Linked DNA regions of Homo sapiens: regions 2 and 3 are each linked to region 1. Evidence: promoter capture Hi-C in 16 types of primary human blood cells and fetal thymus (Javierre and others, 2016). All regions are on one chromosome and are shown on one strand. The core of a region is centred on a gene start or on the middle of the fragment in contact, and the rest is flanking DNA. Distances in the headings are between cores, read along the strand shown. Region 1 holds the start of PIK3R3 (phosphoinositide-3-kinase regulatory subunit 3). Region 2 overlaps P3R3URF-PIK3R3 (P3R3URF-PIK3R3 readthrough). Region 3 overlaps P3R3URF-PIK3R3 (P3R3URF-PIK3R3 readthrough).

Evidence for each region. Contacts are between HindIII fragments. The CHiCAGO score rates a contact against its expected background, and 5 or more counts as called.
Region 2: a fragment that was not itself captured here is called in contact with the fragment with the promoter of PIK3R3 in region 1 in 12 of 17 cell types (total B cells, M1 macrophages, M0 macrophages and 9 more); the score reaches 12.3 in total B cells.
Region 3: a contact is called between a fragment that was not itself captured here and the fragment with the promoter of PIK3R3 in region 1, in 2 of 17 cell types (M0 macrophages and endothelial precursors). The highest score is 5.4, in M0 macrophages.

Annotation. Positions count from the first base shown.
Region 1 is chr1:46,129,480-46,134,626 of GRCh38, reverse strand. It overlaps PIK3R3 (phosphoinositide-3-kinase regulatory subunit 3), which reads left to right and starts at 1,998. Exons shown (of 10, transcript NM_003629.4): 1 at 1,998-2,780. The coding sequence starts at 2,675. The region is part of intron 1 of P3R3URF-PIK3R3 (P3R3URF-PIK3R3 readthrough); the gene reads left to right. LOC101929626 (a long non-coding RNA gene) reads right to left here and starts at 1,256. Exons shown (of 3, transcript NR_125987.1): 1 at 1,237-1,256; 2 at 1-96. RefSeq lists enhancers at 1,216-1,445, 2,686-2,735. The HindIII fragment of the contact is 2,525 bases long and covers 678-3,202 here.
Region 2 is chr1:46,038,904-46,044,050 of GRCh38, reverse strand. It overlaps P3R3URF-PIK3R3 (P3R3URF-PIK3R3 readthrough), which reads left to right. Exons shown (of 10, transcript NM_001303427.2): 10 at 180-3,911. The coding sequence ends at 378. It overlaps PIK3R3 (phosphoinositide-3-kinase regulatory subunit 3), which reads left to right. Exons shown (of 10, transcript NM_003629.4): 10 at 180-3,911. The coding sequence ends at 378. Among named protein-coding and RNA genes, the nearest start is that of PIK3R3, 91 kb to the left of the region's middle. RefSeq lists enhancers at 1-160, 375-434, 161-1,005. The HindIII fragment of the contact is 1,414 bases long and covers 1,700-3,113 here.
Region 3 is chr1:46,054,528-46,059,674 of GRCh38, reverse strand. It overlaps P3R3URF-PIK3R3 (P3R3URF-PIK3R3 readthrough), which reads left to right. Exons shown (of 10, transcript NM_001303427.2): 7 at 3,704-3,880. It overlaps PIK3R3 (phosphoinositide-3-kinase regulatory subunit 3), which reads left to right. Exons shown (of 10, transcript NM_003629.4): 7 at 3,704-3,880. Among named protein-coding and RNA genes, the nearest start is that of PIK3R3, 76 kb to the left of the region's middle. The HindIII fragment of the contact is 3,547 bases long and covers 248-3,794 here.

The sequences.
Region 1 (5,147 bases), core at 749-3,248:
TATCAAACTTGAGTGCTTCTGGCTCCCAGATATGCTGAAGTAGAGACTGCTGGGAAGGCAGCCACAAATTAGAGTTGATCTTCCAGTATCTTCTACCTGTAAGGAATGGTTCAGGAAATTATAATTAATGAGTCCTGCCCCAAAGTTGAAATCATATTTGGATTTCAGAAATAATAAGAAAGCATATAAGAATCCTGGTGTCTTTTCTTAGCTCAACCATGTCCATCCATACTTTCTGGCCCTTTTAAACCAGTTACTCTATACCCAGTCCATATACATTTTGACTGTCTGCCCTCAGGAACTGTCTCAACTCAGGGCATCTTTAAGGAAGGCAGAACCACCTTAGGAGGTAGAGGGTGAAACGTGGCAACTCTTCCATAGGCGAATCAATATAGCAGACATGCTCAAGGTAGGAGGTTTTGCTAGGGCTTAAATCAGGCTGTCAACTCAAACACAATGGGCTTTGTTACTCCTGTGTAAAGAGGAAATGGAGCAGTTTTTGGCCTCCTCAGACTGTATTGTAGGGTATACAGGATGGCAATTCCAGGCACAATCTTCAGGAGACACAAATCTGCTTTTAGCTATTCAGTGTTCCCCAGCAAGTTAATTAGCTGTTTCTGAAATGCATGGAAATATTCAGCATTTTCATAGTGAAGCCAATCTCCCAGATTTAAGCTTTGGGGGTGGGAATGAGTATGTGAGGAAGAGGGTCTGTCAGGGAAACAGAATAGAGCCCTTTTGGTGAGAGATTCCAACACCTGTGACTTATCTTAGAAATTACACATGCACTGTAATTCCAAGACTTTTTTTTTTTTTAATTGGTTTGAGCACTCGAGCAGGAGGGCTTGCTGAGACCTCTCACTATTTTAGGCGTGGGGAGTTACCTCTGGGTTCAAAAGTCTTTGGGTGGGAAGCACAGAGGAACTGCGAAATGCCTCCCTCAGAAATGTCCAATTGCTCAAGGGGAGAAGCAGGGAGTGGGGTCAGGTAGCAGCCAGGAAGGTTGCAGGGGCCACGGGCACATCCTCTCCCTGAGTGGTAAGGTGGCAAGTGGGTTTGGGGACCATTGCTTTGACAACTTGTCAAGGGTGCGGAGAGGGCTGTCCCAGCAAGGTGAAGAGGTCTGTAGGAAAGGAGTCTCCCCAGAGACCTCCTAAGGACCAGAAGAGCGCGCACCCCGCCAAGTGACAGAACGTGCCCCCTCTGTGTCCGCTCCCTTCCCCCGCGGCCAATCACCGGGCAGAGGCGTCTCACGCCAGCAGGTCCTCCCTGGCTCCTCTCCTTACTCGTCCGGGCGGACCAAGCCTCAGCAGGAGCCCCGCCTGTCTCCAGGCAGTTTGAGCCCCCGAGCGCTCGCCCAGCCTGTCAGTAACCGCCGTTTGCGTTTTCTTCCTTTCTTTCTTTCTTTTTTTTCCTCCTCTTTTCTTTTCCCCTTCTGCCTTTGTCCCGCTTAGTAACTGGGCTCTGACCAATCGCCGCCTTACCGGCCGGCGCCGGCTGTCTCCTGATTGGCCCGCTTGGGGCGCGCAGCCGTCTCCCGCTCCTTCGCAGGAGCAAGGCAGACAAAAGACGCAGGCTCCAGGCTCCGGCAACCGGCCTCAGCCAATCACCACCCACCTTGCCTCTCTTCCCTCGCCCCACTCCCTCCTCGCCTGGCTCGCGTGCTCCCGGCACTGACTCCTGGAGTGCGGCCAGCGCCCGGATCGTACCATTCTGATTGAGGCTGGGGGAGAGCGCGGATGGCTGATTGGGGAGCCGAAGCCTAGAGAGCGGTGGGGAGACGTGAAAGTCGAGATGGAGAGCAGCTTTTTGAACATGTTCTCAGGCACTTGACAGAATCCCGGTACATCGAGGCGGGACGGCGTGGAAGGGGCGGTGGTGATGCCTGCTGTCCCCCCTCCCGGCGCGGTTGGGTGGCGCCTCAGCGGGTGGGCAGCATGGGGCGGGGAGGGTGTCCCCTCCGCGCCGTTAAAATGAAACTCTAGTGGCTGGAGTCCGGGCAGAGCTTGAGGGCAGTTGGTGCGGTCGGGTTGGTTCTTACACCCCGGCGGGAGCGCCCAGACAAGCCGAGCTGACTGGACTTCTCCGGCCGGCCCCATTCCCGAGGCTGCGGCAGCTTCGGTTCCGAGACCGACCGGAGAGGAGCCCGAGTCCCGGCCTCTGGGGGATTCGCTCTCTGCAGACCAGTGGGACCCCGAAACTTGAACGCAATCTCCAGCCCCCTTTTTTGCCTTCCTTTGTCACTTGCCCGGGTTTCTCCCAACGTGTTCTTTTTTTTCCTCTTCATTCTCCCTCCTTCGAAGGACACAAAAGTGGCTTCCGCGGAAAGATTTGGAGGCGGTGGGAGCTTTTCTCCCCGGAGAGCGACTGTGTAGAAAGGATTTTTGGGAAGCCGCTTTTTAACACCTCTGCTCTCCGTCCCCCAAGCCTCTGTGTAATCCTCTGAGGAGAAAAGCCCATAGCTTGAAAGTTCGGGGGCATTTTGTTGTGTTCTGTAGGAGAGAGGGGGAGGACCCTGTTCGGGTAGTTTGGCCGGACTGGTACTGGCCGTTGGAAAACCCGAAGTACATTTCCGTGTGGAACTTTTGCAGATATATATTTTTAGATTTTTAAATACCAGATAAAAAATATATGCCTTCTATATATCTCCTGGCGACCTGCCCCTGACAGCGCGATGTACAATACGGTGTGGAGTATGGACCGCGATGACGCAGACTGGAGGGAGGTGATGATGCCCTATTCGACAGAACTGATATTTTATATTGAAATGGATCCTCCAGGTACTTGGGAGAAAAAAAAAAAGAATCTCGTGATGGGTCTGATTTGTATTTACCAAGAGCTTGCTGATGTTTTCAGGGCAGAAGTATTCCTGGGTGCGCTAGGTTCGGGATGAGGAGATTTGCAGTTACAGCTGCGGTAAAACTGCTTCTGGTTTACACGTTTAAAGTTTGCAGTTAGGACCCTGATCCTATTGTCCTGCGAAGGTGGGGGTGGGGGCTGGAAGTGGGGGTGGGAGGAGAGACCCCTTTTTAAAATTATCATTATTTTTTACTTTGCCTTTGCGTGTCGTTCAGGTTTTTCTTGTGCCCGCCACTTTATTTTATTTTTTTCTTTTTCAATTAAAGACTCTTCTACCTGCAAAGGATGTTTTATATCCCGGGGTTAAAACCAGTCTTTCACTTTGGGCGAATTCTTGAAAGCTTGTCCTTTCATACATTTGTCTAATTTGGTTCGTTGTGTTTTACCCCGGTTAACTTCTGAAACTGAGTTATGTGATTATTCATTGTAAGACTCCCTTTTTCTCTTGCAGAAACAAATGCCGGTTAGTGATTTTTTTTAGGGATTGGGCGTTCGTATTCAGCCATGGTCTTAGTCTGAGGTTTTCCTTCTCAGAAGATAGTCGCTCAGAGAAATCTACGTGCAATATTTTATTACTCTTTAATTTAATGATGATTTAACTTAATTTATGGGATAGGGTTTAATGTAACTTCAATTCCTAGAATAAAGAAAAAGCAAAAACAAAAACGAGGGAACCTTTCTGTTTCCTGTGAACGTGTGATATATACATATGTGTTCCTATACACGTAATGTAAAGTATACATATATAGCACTATATTTTTATTTTAAAGCTCTGTCTGACGCTATTACAGACATTTTGTGTATCTGGTAGGAAAGGAAAAGGAAAGCAAAATGGAAAAGTTGGCTTTTTTTTCCTTTAAAGTCTACCCCATTTTATGATTATTAGCTGTCAGATTTTCTCAAACCCTGTTTGCAGTTACAGATGGTGTTTTATGTAATGATTCTGAATAAGTAGAGAGCCTTTGTGACTCCTTGTTTCTGTCGAGGATGAATTCTTTATGTATTTTAAAACGTGTTATGGCTAAGTCTACAGAATAAAATGTGTGTCATTGGGGAACCTCGTTTATTATAAGACTGTATTTTTGGAAACGTTTGAAAGGATTTGAGCCATGCAAGTGTGAAGAAGTGTAACTGTCTTATAGAAGGTATGTAGAAATTGTTTCCTGTGTCCTTGCAAACGGTGAATTATCCTGTTTTTTTTTTCAATTAGTCAGTGTTAAATGGTGCTGTACTAAAAACTAGTATTGAATAAACCTTTTTCACTCTTGATGATCACTTAGAATTTTTTTCTTTTCCTTTATTTCAGAGCTTTATTTGCTTTTATAATTGTGACTGCAATCCAGATGCAGCTTTTCAGTGTTTTGTAAAGTTTGTAAGATTTGCCACCCATCTATTGTGTCTTTCCCCCTTTGTTTCCCCCTAACGGTAAAGCATGTTAGATACATTTGTCATACATATGAATAGAAATTTAGTACATCACTGGTACTTTTATTGTAAAAAGTAAGGTTAATAATTCTAGATTCCTGTTATAAGAATTATATATTCAAACTGCCTTAGAATTATACTGCATTATATAGTACCTTGCCTTGCAGACATACAAAGGGAATTTGTTGGGTGGGAGGTGAGTAGGGAGGAGGGGAGAAAATGAAGAATGCACTTATGGTTGAAATATATTAGCCTAGTAGAAAAATACTGGTCAAGTTGAGTTGAGTTGTCCAAAAATAATTTTAAGAAAAGTTGACTGTTATAACTATATGGAGACGTGGGTCTTATAAGGTTGTATAGAAAATTCTGATCCAAACTTTATTTTCCATGGAAATAAACATTTGAGTTTAAAATGTTCATCCTTGAATGAAATTGTGCATACTGAGATTCTATTGAGAATACTGAAAAATACATATGCTGTTCTTTATTACCCCTTTTGTAGCTTTAATGTAGAATATGGTTAGTTATTCCTAACAGCTTTTTGAAAACGAAGCACACTTGAGTATGCTGAAACATTGCCTATGAAGTGAATGGTTTTTCATGGAAATAGTGTGAATGTCAACCTTGTTTTATGTGATAAATTAAGTTTTCAAAACATTTAAAACTGTATCATTAGTGAAGTGGTTGCAGCATGTTTTGTAGGTTTTTCCTAGCTCCCACCCCACATCAAGCTCTTATTATTTCCTTCCTGGACTGCTGTGATAGCGTACTAACTGCTCTCCCATTTCTATCCTGTTCAAGCCACGGTAATGTTAAGAGTATCATCTGATGATTTATCTTACAATGATAAATCTTCCAATGGG
Region 2 (5,147 bases), core at 1,157-3,656, 91 kb after region 1:
TTTTAACACCCGTATCTGTGGCCAAGTCTGTAGGGAATGGGAACGCAATTTCACAAGCTTTGCCTGGTTAACAAAAAACACTTGTTTGCATAACAATTGCTCTCAGACTTCTGGCCATTTAGTGTCCTTTTATCTATTGTTACCTACCTTAACATTTCTTCTGTGGTTTGTCATTGCAGGGCCGATGGGGAAGTGAAGCACTGTGTGATCTACAGCACTGCTCGGGGCTATGGCTTTGCAGAGCCCTACAACCTGTACAGCTCTCTGAAGGAGCTAGTGCTCCATTACCAGCAGACATCCTTGGTTCAGCACAACGACTCCCTCAACGTCAGGCTTGCCTACCCTGTTCATGCACAGATGCCCTCGCTTTGCAGATAAAGAGGAAGTGGGAAGAGAGGTGGTTCTCTGGCATTTTTTTCTACAGTTTTTATTAGACTACGATGAGGGCATTCTTTCTACATAGACTGCTTGTTTTGCACAAGAAGTGATTTTGTGAATGTGAAGTGGAGAGGCCGAGCAGCAGCCGGCCGGGATGGGGGCATTAGAGGCCTGAGGTTCTCTAGGACTCAGCCATGCCGCTGCACTGACATACTAAGCTGGAAGCAGATGTTTTTTTTGAAAGTCTGTTTCATTGGGGTTTTTGTTTTGTTTAGCCAGACACCCTCAACAGAATATTAGGCTTGATGGTTATAGCGGGTGGGGTTGTATTTGGAAGCCTCTGAAGAGACCATGTCTTTTTAAAATCTAACTCTTGAGAGTGCAGCAGGGGCATGGCTCTGCTGGGAGTTGTGTTTTGCTTTGGCAGTCTCTCTTCCCCCCACGAAGAAGGCTGTTTAGGTTTTGTGATAGAATGGGATTTGATGAAAAAGACAACCAAAGGAAAATGGGGAGGCTTGGGATTTCATTTAAATAATCTAAGCCAAGATGATAAAAAAAACCTTCAACTGAAGGTATTTTGTTTCTTACCAACATAATTTAGGCTTCAGCATCTCACCAGCCCCTCCCTCTGAAGAAGTATTATGTTCAGAAGCCAACAAAACAGTTTGTTGCCAGACCAATGTTTGATGGGAAAACGTGGCACTCATAGTTGAATGTATACTTCTGTACCAAAACTTGAACATAAAAAGACTAGAATTTGTGAGTTTTAGCAAACGCTAAAATTGATCACTGTAACTAACCCCTTCTGTCCTTCCTGCCTGTTTCTCTGAGATGAGGAATAGCATTCTTTTTGTGGGGATGGTGAGCTTTGAATCATAAAATGAAGTTGGTGCTTGTATGGTGTTTCCTTAGCCTAAAGAATGATCTGTTGTTTGAAACCTTTGTAACTTGTTTGTATGAGTAAAGAAAAGGTGCAATGCAGTGCTTTTAGATGGCTTGATATACCAAATAACAATATAGAACAACATTATTATATGTGCTTCCCCAAGTTTAAAGGCCCTGCAGAAATAGTAAACATGGTTTAATTTCCCTTCATTTCCCCCTCCTTTGCTGGATGGGGTTTTGGGAGCTATAGGTTGCTAAGGAGGGGAGTCAGATTGTGGTCAGGTGCCTCAGTAAATCACAGACCCAGGGGCCCTGTGGTCCAGGGTGAGAGTCACACCACATTACACATGTGCTTCCATACAGTGGTTTCTGAAGCTTTTGCAGGGAGAGAAGATGGCTTAGTGTTTAGACTGTTAGTAGAAGCCATCTGGAAGCTTTTCTCTTTGCCTTTTTTTGTGATCCTGCCATTAAGGCTATGTGCAGTCTGCCCTCCTGCTCCAGTGGCCTTGATTTTAGGCCAGGAATCTTCTGCTCCATGTGGCTTAAGCCTTCCAGCTGAGTGAAGCTAGGCAAATGGAGTGGGGGCAGGCATCTATTCCTGCCCCCATCATGCCCCACACCCATCAGTCAACACTCATTTGACAAATAGAGTCCAGCTGCCTCTGAGCCAATCCTGGGACCATAATAGGCTCAGAGTGAGTCAGCTGTTTGAACCCAAAGCTGTGCAGTCAGGCACCCTGGCTGAGCTAGAGAAGCCAGTACCTGCATCTTGGTTTATAAGGCTTACAGCTAGGAAAGCTCTAGTTCTGGGGGTGAAAGAAAAATATTAGTTTACCTGAGCACTTATTTCCATGACAGGGTCTAAAATATGGACCATGATGTAGACACAGATTTTTAATTTTGGAAAAACCTCCAGTTACTAGTGACGAGGATAGAAAGGGAAGTGCTTCTCTTTGGCTTTTTCTTGGTTACACTGCAGTTTCAGGATTGGGTGAGACAGAGACAAATGAACCCCCCTCTAAAGTCATTTAACTAATAGCCAGCACATCCCTTCCCCAAACTGTCAATTGAAATCTTAACTGAAAGTTTTACTGAATAATACCAAGCTAATTGCTGTTGGGCACACCTGGATGGCTTTGCACCTGGTGTTGAACCTGCTGAAGCAGGTGGATGCTCAAGATTACGTGCAAGGAATCCCTCCCATCTGGTACTAAAATTTCAGTGTGTTCTGAGTGTCTTTTAAACCAAAATGGAAATACAGATACAGGGCTGTAGTATTCAGTAATGTGTCTGCTCCTTGTTGGGCAGACACCAGCGGTGTGCAGGGAGAGACCAAGTACCATCTTTATCTACACTTGGGCTGGCTTGTGGAGAAGGGCTGCTTTTTTTCAGTCCTACATTCCTTCATTTTTTTTTTCATTCTTGAATTCATTGTTTTGTGGGATCTAAGACCCAGGGGTCATTTGAGAGGTTTGACAGTATCTTTTCTGACCAGTTGCCACATGACTTGCTTGACCCTGAGCCTGTGGAAATGGCATAGGGACCAGTCTACTACCCACTGGGCCTGGTGTGTAGAGGGGGAGAGGGTAGCAAGGTGCTTCTCTACGCCCATGACTTGGGAGCAGGTCTTGGCCTCCTTCATGAGAGTCTAGTGCCATGTCCTGTCCCATGATCTGGACCCTGGGACTGTCTTGGCATCTTAACTGCAGTTTCAATGAGGCAGAGGGCAAAGAGAGACCAAGATCAGAGGGGTTCATTATACCCCTGGCTAGAGAACCCAGCTACTGACATGCAAGCAGCTTGGGGCTGGCTGGACACAGGTACTAGGCCCATTGTTTCCAGGTGAAGCTTTCATCACAGAACAGTGTTGTCTCCACCTGGCCTTAGATGGCACGCCATGATTCGGGCCTGGATAGACTGCCTGCGTCCTTACCACTGATCTGGCCAAGAATGAGGCCCTCCCAACACTTTCACTCCCTCTCCAAGCCTTGATGGGACCTCCACTTATTTAGGCCTCATGTGCTTTGAAGAAGCTTTGAGAGCCAATGTGTCTTCCACGGGTCTCTTTTTTGCTACAAGTAATCAGCCCCATGTGTTCTCTTAAACTGAGAATTGCACCTGGGCAATTCCTGTTTTCTAAGGTGGTCTCTGCTGCTATTTAACAACCCAGAGTAGGCCTCTGTGAGGCTTCAGTGGCCTCAGAAACCAGAGGGTCCAGATAGGGGGCCTGCTTGGGCCCTCTGCTGCCAACTGCTCAAACCTGCTTTAGCTCCAGCCACTTGTGGCAAACAACCTCGTTTCCTTACAAATTCCAGCATGTGACTTTGGTGCCGTTACTTGTGAAAAATCTATTCTGTTGTCTTTGATGTGTCCAAGAAAATTCGTGTAGTTTACGTAAAAATATCTGACTCACAAGAAAGCCAACTGTATGTCTTGTGATGGGACAGTTCATAATGTAGTTGCTAGACCACTTTACAAATTGTTCTTGTCACCAGATGTGTTCAGACATTGCTGTGCAATTGTTGGGGAGGGTAGGGGGAAAGGCGAGAGGAGATACTTATTGGTCTTTTTGTTTAATACCTTCCCCAAGAGGGGACAGTCTGGCCAACTTGCTCCAGTAATGCAATAAAGACATTGCAATAAAGTAATTTTTTGTCTTCATGCTATGAAGGGGTGGGCTGGGGGCAGAGTGGGGGTCAAGAGAGAAGAGTACTCAGGTGTTGAACAGCCCTTGAAACTTCCAAACCTTCTCTCCAGTAAGCACCAAAAGACTAGTACTGGGGCAGCCAGAGGCTCTTTTCTTCCTAGGGGAGGACATTGACTCCAACTAGGCATGATGCCAGAGTCCTGTCCACCGAACACAGACACAGAAGTCTTAGATACTGACTCTGAGAAAATTAAAACTGAATGCCATTTCCTCCACACCTCACTGCCCACTCCTAATAAGCTGTTTATTGGTTCTCATATTTCTGCCCAGAATGAAGTGTTTCCACATTCTACTCTGGGGGAGGGGGAAATGGGCCCAGCTTTATAATCTATCCTCTTATTGCCCCAGGCCCTTGTCATCTCCTGCCAAGGCACACTGTTGAGCTTCCTGTATTCTGGGAACGTAATGAGCCAACATGCGATAACCTCTTGTTGCATAGGATATTGCAGCGCTCATCCATGTCTCAGGCCCCACCCATGTGTACTCAATTATAAATAAGTCAGATTGGGCAGGGAACAGCCTGTTGTTCTAAGTGACCTTGCCTATGTCTTTTCTCCCCACTACACTTTAGCTACACAGCATCCCAAGACCACTGCCAGGAACTATGGATTTCTCCTAATCCCAGAGTTGTTCGCACTTCTGTGTTTAGGATGCTCAAATTCCTAGCTCCTTCCCAGTTCTTTCTTCTGAACTCTACCCGCTGGCTGGATGTTTCCACTGGGCTCCTGGGTATCTCACCGACACTTCAAACTTGTTTACTTGGGGCTGGGCGTGGTGGCTCATGCCTGTAATCCCAGCACTTTGGGAGGCCGAGGCGGGTGGATCACCTGAGGTCAGGAGTTCGAGAACAGCCTGGCCAACGTGGTGAAACCCCGTCTCTACTAAAAGTACAAAAATTAGCTGGGCGTGGTAGCATGCACCTGTAATCCCAGCTACTCGGGAGGCTGAGGCATGAGAATTGCTTGAACCTGGGATGCAGGGGTTGCAGTGAGCTGAGGCCGTGCCACTGCACTCCAGCCTGGGCAACAGAGCGAAACTCTGTCTCAAAAAAGCAAACTTGTTTACTTGTCAGAAAAAGTATGATTGGCTATGAATTTCCTCACCTTCCTACCACCAAACCTACAACCTTATCTATATCTACATAACTATTCTCCCTCCCATCTGTTAAATTACAATA
Region 3 (5,147 bases), core at 772-3,271, 75 kb after region 1:
CTACAGGCAAGTGCCACTGCATTGGCTAATTTTTAAAAATCTTTTTGTAGAGATGGGGTCCTGAACTCCTGGACTCAAGCAATCCTCCCCGCTCAGCTTCCCAAAGTGCTGGGATTACAGGTGTGTGTCCAGCATATGAAGTTTTAATAGTAATATAAAGCCACATATTGAGTGACAAGGGAATAATGTAGACAGTCATTACCATAAGGGTTCAGAGTATAGCAAAACGTTGTGTGTTGGAAAAGCTTATAGCTGTCATCTGTTGCGTGCTTACCAAGATAATGTCAGGGAATGTTTTTGTCCTTTACATGTATTGTCACATTTAATTAACAGAAAAACCCAGTGAAGTAAGTACTGTTGTAGGTACCCATTTGTATTAGTCCATTTTCATGCTGCTGATAAAGACATACCTGAGACTGGGGTAGTTTACAGAAAGAAGAGATTTAATTGGACTTACAGTTCCACGTGACTAGGGAAGCCTCACAATCATGGTGGAAGGGAAGGAAGAGCAAATCACGTCTTACATGGATGGCAGCAGGCAAAGAGAGAATGAGGAAGATGCAAAAGCAGAAATCCCTGATAAAACCATCAGATCTCGTGAAACTTACTCACTACAATGAGAACAGTAGTGGGGAAACCGCCTCCATGATTCAGTTGTTTCACCTTGGTCCCTCCCACAGCATGTGGGAATTATGGGAGTACAATTCAAGAGGAGATTCGGGTGGGGACACAGCCAAACCATATTATTCTGCCCCTGGCCCCTCCCAAATCCTTTATCTTTACATTTCAGAACCAATCATGCATTCCCAACAGTCCCCCAAAGTCTTAACTCATTTCAGCATTAACTCAAAAGTCCACAGTCCAAAGTCTCATCTGAGACAAGGCAAGTCTCTTCTGCCTATAAGCCTGTAAAATCAAAAGCAAGCTAGTTATTTCCTAGATACAGTGGGGGTACAGACATTGGGTAAATACACCTGTTCCAAATGGAAGAAATTGGCCAGAACAAAGGGGCTACAGGGTCCATGCAAGTCTGAAATCCAGCAGGACAGTCAAATCTTAAAGCTCCAAAATGGTCTCCTTTGACTCCATGTCTCACATCCAGGACATGCTGACGCAAGAGATGGGTTCCCATGGTCTGGGGCAGCTCCGCCCCTGTGGCTTTGCAGGGTACAGCCTCCCTCCTGGCTGCTTTCACAGGGTGGCCTTGAGTGTCTGCGGCTTTTCCAGGCACACGGTGTAAGCTGTCAATGAATCTACAATTCTGGGGTCTGGAGGACAGTGGCCTTCTTCTCACAGTGCCACTAGGCGGTGCCCCAGTAGGAACTCTGTGTGGCGGCTTCGACCCCGCATTTCCCTTCCACACTGCCCCAGCAGAGGTTCTCCATGAGAGCCCCGCCCCTGCAGCAAACTTCTGCCTGGGCATCCAGGTGTTTCCATACGTCTGAAATCTAGGTGGAGGTTCCCAATTCTTGACTTCTGTGCACCTGCAGGCTCAATGCCACATGGAAGCTGCCAAGACTTGGGGCTTGTACCATCTGAATCCATGGCCTGAGCCCTATGTTGGCCCCTTTCAGCCATGGCTGGAGTGGCTAGGACGCAGGGCACCAAGTCTCTAGGCTGCACACAGCTCAGGGACCCTGGGCCCAGCTCACGAAACTCCTTTTTCCTCTAGGCCTCCAGGGCTTGATGGGAGGGGCTGCCTTGAAGACCTCTGACATGCCCTGAAGACATTTCCCCCATTGTCTTGGGGATTAACTTTTGGCTTTTTGTTACTTATGCAAATTTCTGCAGCCGGCTTGAATTTCTCCTCAGAAAATGGAATTTTATTTTCTATTGCATTGTCAGGCTGCAAATTTTTCAAACTTTTATGCTGTTTCTCTTTTAAAACTGAATGCTTTTAAGAGCACCCACGTCACCTCTTGAATGCTTTGCTGCTTAGAAATTTCTTCCGCCAGATATCCTAAATCATCTCCCTCAAGTTCAAAGTTCCACAAATCTCTAGGGCAGGGGCAAAATGCTATCAATCTCTTTGCTAAAACGTAACAAGAGTCACCTTTGCTCCAGTTCACAACAAGTTCCTCATCTCCATCTGAGACCACCTCAGCCTGGACCTTATTGTCCATATGACTATCAGCATTTTGGGCAAAGCCATTCAACACTAGGAAGTTCCAAACTTTCCCACATTTTCCTGTCTTCTTCTGAGCCCTCCAAACTGTTCCAACCTCTGCCTGTTACCCAGTTTTAAGGTCACTTCCCCATTTTCGGGTATCTTTTCAGCAGTGCCCCATTCTACTAGTACTAATTTACTAAATTAGTCCGTTTTCATGCTGCTGATAAGGAAATACCCAAGACAGGGCAATTTACAAAAGGAAGAGGCTTAATTAGGCTTACAGTTCCACGTGGCTTGGGAAGCCTCACAATCATGGTGGAAGGCAAGGAGAGGAGCAAGTCCCGTCTTACATGGATGGCAGCAGGCAAAGAGAGAATGAGGAAGATGCAAAAGCAGAAACCCCTGATAAAACCATCAGATCTTGTGAGACCTATTCACTACCACGAGAACAGTATGGGGGAACCGCCCCCATGATTCAGTTATCTATTCCCGGGTCCTTCCTACAACATGTGGGAATTATGGGAGTACAATTCAAGATGAGATTTGGGTGAGGGCACAGCCAAACCATATCACCATTTTAAACAGATGAGGAAATGAAGGCACTGAGAAGTTAAATAACTTGCCCATGGCCCCACAGCAAGTGACAGCAGAGATTCAGATGTAGGTAGGCTAATTGCAAAACCATTGTTCTTAACTGTTGTGTTATGCTACCTCTGGAATATCAAATGTATAGCTTTACTTGTTCAGTCATTGCTGGATTCAGGGCCCAAACAAGGTTATTGGGATTCTCTCTCATGTTGTATTTTGGCTCAGTTTTTCTCTGGGTTGATTTTATCCTCAGGCAGGCATTGCCGGTGAAGTGACAGTATAGCTGCTGGGATGAGAACTGCATATTCATAATTTAGCAATTTGTGTGGAAAGAGAGAATTTATTTTAACAATACAGTTCTAGCAAATGTTCTAGAATTGACTCTCATTGGGTCAGTTTGAGTTTTATTCCTATTCCTGAACCGTCACTGTGGCCTGAGGGTAGGGATGGGATAGAGTGGAATATTCTTATTGGCCAGTCTGGGCCATGTGTGTTTCCATCCCTGGATCTGAGACGGGGGAATGAATCCTTACCTCCAGGGAACATCAGGGTGCTAATACCAGAAATGGGAATGGATATGGGCCAGGCAAAAACAAATGTTCACCACGCTTAAGATATTAGGACCTCACTGGGTGCAATGGCTCACGCCTGTAATCCCAGTACTTTGGGAGACTGAGGCAGGCAGATCACCTGAGGTTAGAAGTTTGAGACCAGCCTGGTCAACATGGCAAAACCCCATCTCTACTAAAAATACAAAAATTAGCCGGGTGTGGTGGCATGCGCCTGTAATCCCAGCTACTGGGGAGGCTGAGGCAGGAGAATTGCTTGAACCCGGGAGGCGGAGGTTGCAGTGAGCCGAGATCATGCCACTACACTCCAGCCTGGGTGACAGAGCGAGACTCAATCTCAAGGGAAAAAAAAAAAGGATATTAGGACCGTGCTCACCCAGTAGGATCTGTCTGCTTGATTTCTATTTTAGCCTTAACATGTCAAATATTTTTACAGAATTATGATGAATTATGATAAATTGAAATCACGTCTGGGTGAGATTCATGATAGCAAAATGCGTCTAGAGCAGGATTTGAAGAATCAAGCTTTGGACAACCGAGAAATAGATAAAAAAATGAATAGCATCAAACCTGACCTGATCCAGCTGCGAAAGATCCGAGATCAACACCTTGTGTAAGTAGTCTGGGAGTGTATGGGGAGGGAGACGTTAGTGCCAGGTTACTACCAGCACTAGAGACACTAGAGGTGGAAGAAGAGATTAGAGATTTGTAATTGAGAATTGGCCAGTAAGATGGTAAGAATTTAGGAAAGTGTCCTTGGTAGTTGTAGGGGGTACCAGAGTTAATCTGAAGTTAATATGTGGAGCAAACCAGAATGTAGGACTCTTGATCCATACAAATGCCTTGGAAATCTCAGAGGCTGGCTGTGGCATGAGTAAAATGCTATATCTTAACAAGAACAGATTAATGTTTGCCTAAAACATAAAAATCAGAATCTTTGTTTACATACTAGAACTGAGTGGGGAATTTCTATTTCCTCTGAGGGGAAGTAGGTTCTAGGCTGGGCACTGTGGCTTACGCCTGTAACCCCAGCACTTTGGGAGGCCGAGGTAGGCAGATCATCTGAGGTCCGGAGTTCGAGACACCAGCCTGGCCAACATAGTGAAACTCCGTTTCTACTAAAAATACAAAATTAGCTGGGCGTGGTGGCACATTCTTGTAATCCCAGCTACTCAGGAGGCTGAGGCAGGAGAATCACTTGAACCCTGGAGGCGGAGGTTGCAGTGAGCCGAGATCACGCCACTGCACTCCATGCCTGGGTGACAGAGTGAGACTCCATCTGGGAAAAAAAAAAAAAAAAAGATGGTGAAACCCTGTCTGTACTAAAAATACAAAAAATTAGCTGGGCATAGTGGTGGGCGCCTGTAATCCCAGCTACTTGGGAGGCTGAGGTAGGAGAATCGCTTGAACCTGGGAGGCAGAGGTTGCAGTGAGCCGAGATCGTGCCACTGCACTCCAGCCTGGGCAACAGAGTGAGTCTCAAAAACAACAACAAAAACAAAATGACATTCTTTATTTAAATAACAGAAATGTATCTATAGAAGGCACTTGAGGTAATTTGAGTAGTGAAACCTAATTCTTTAGTATGAGGGAAAACTATATAATTTAGCCAAATATAGGCATAATAGAGATAATATACAAATATAAATGGAAAGATAGTATCAGAATAAAATGTGTGAATTATATTTTTAGAAACATAAATAACTGCTTCATAGGACAGAATGCATGAGAAAGGAAGATCCTGGATATTGGGCTTAGTTCTGGGTAACGAATAGACTGTTTTGAAATGCATCTATGGGTGACCTTGATGCATGTAACACCACTCAATTCAAACTACTGGCAGGAGAAGACAGAGCAGAGACCTCTGAATCTGGGTTTTC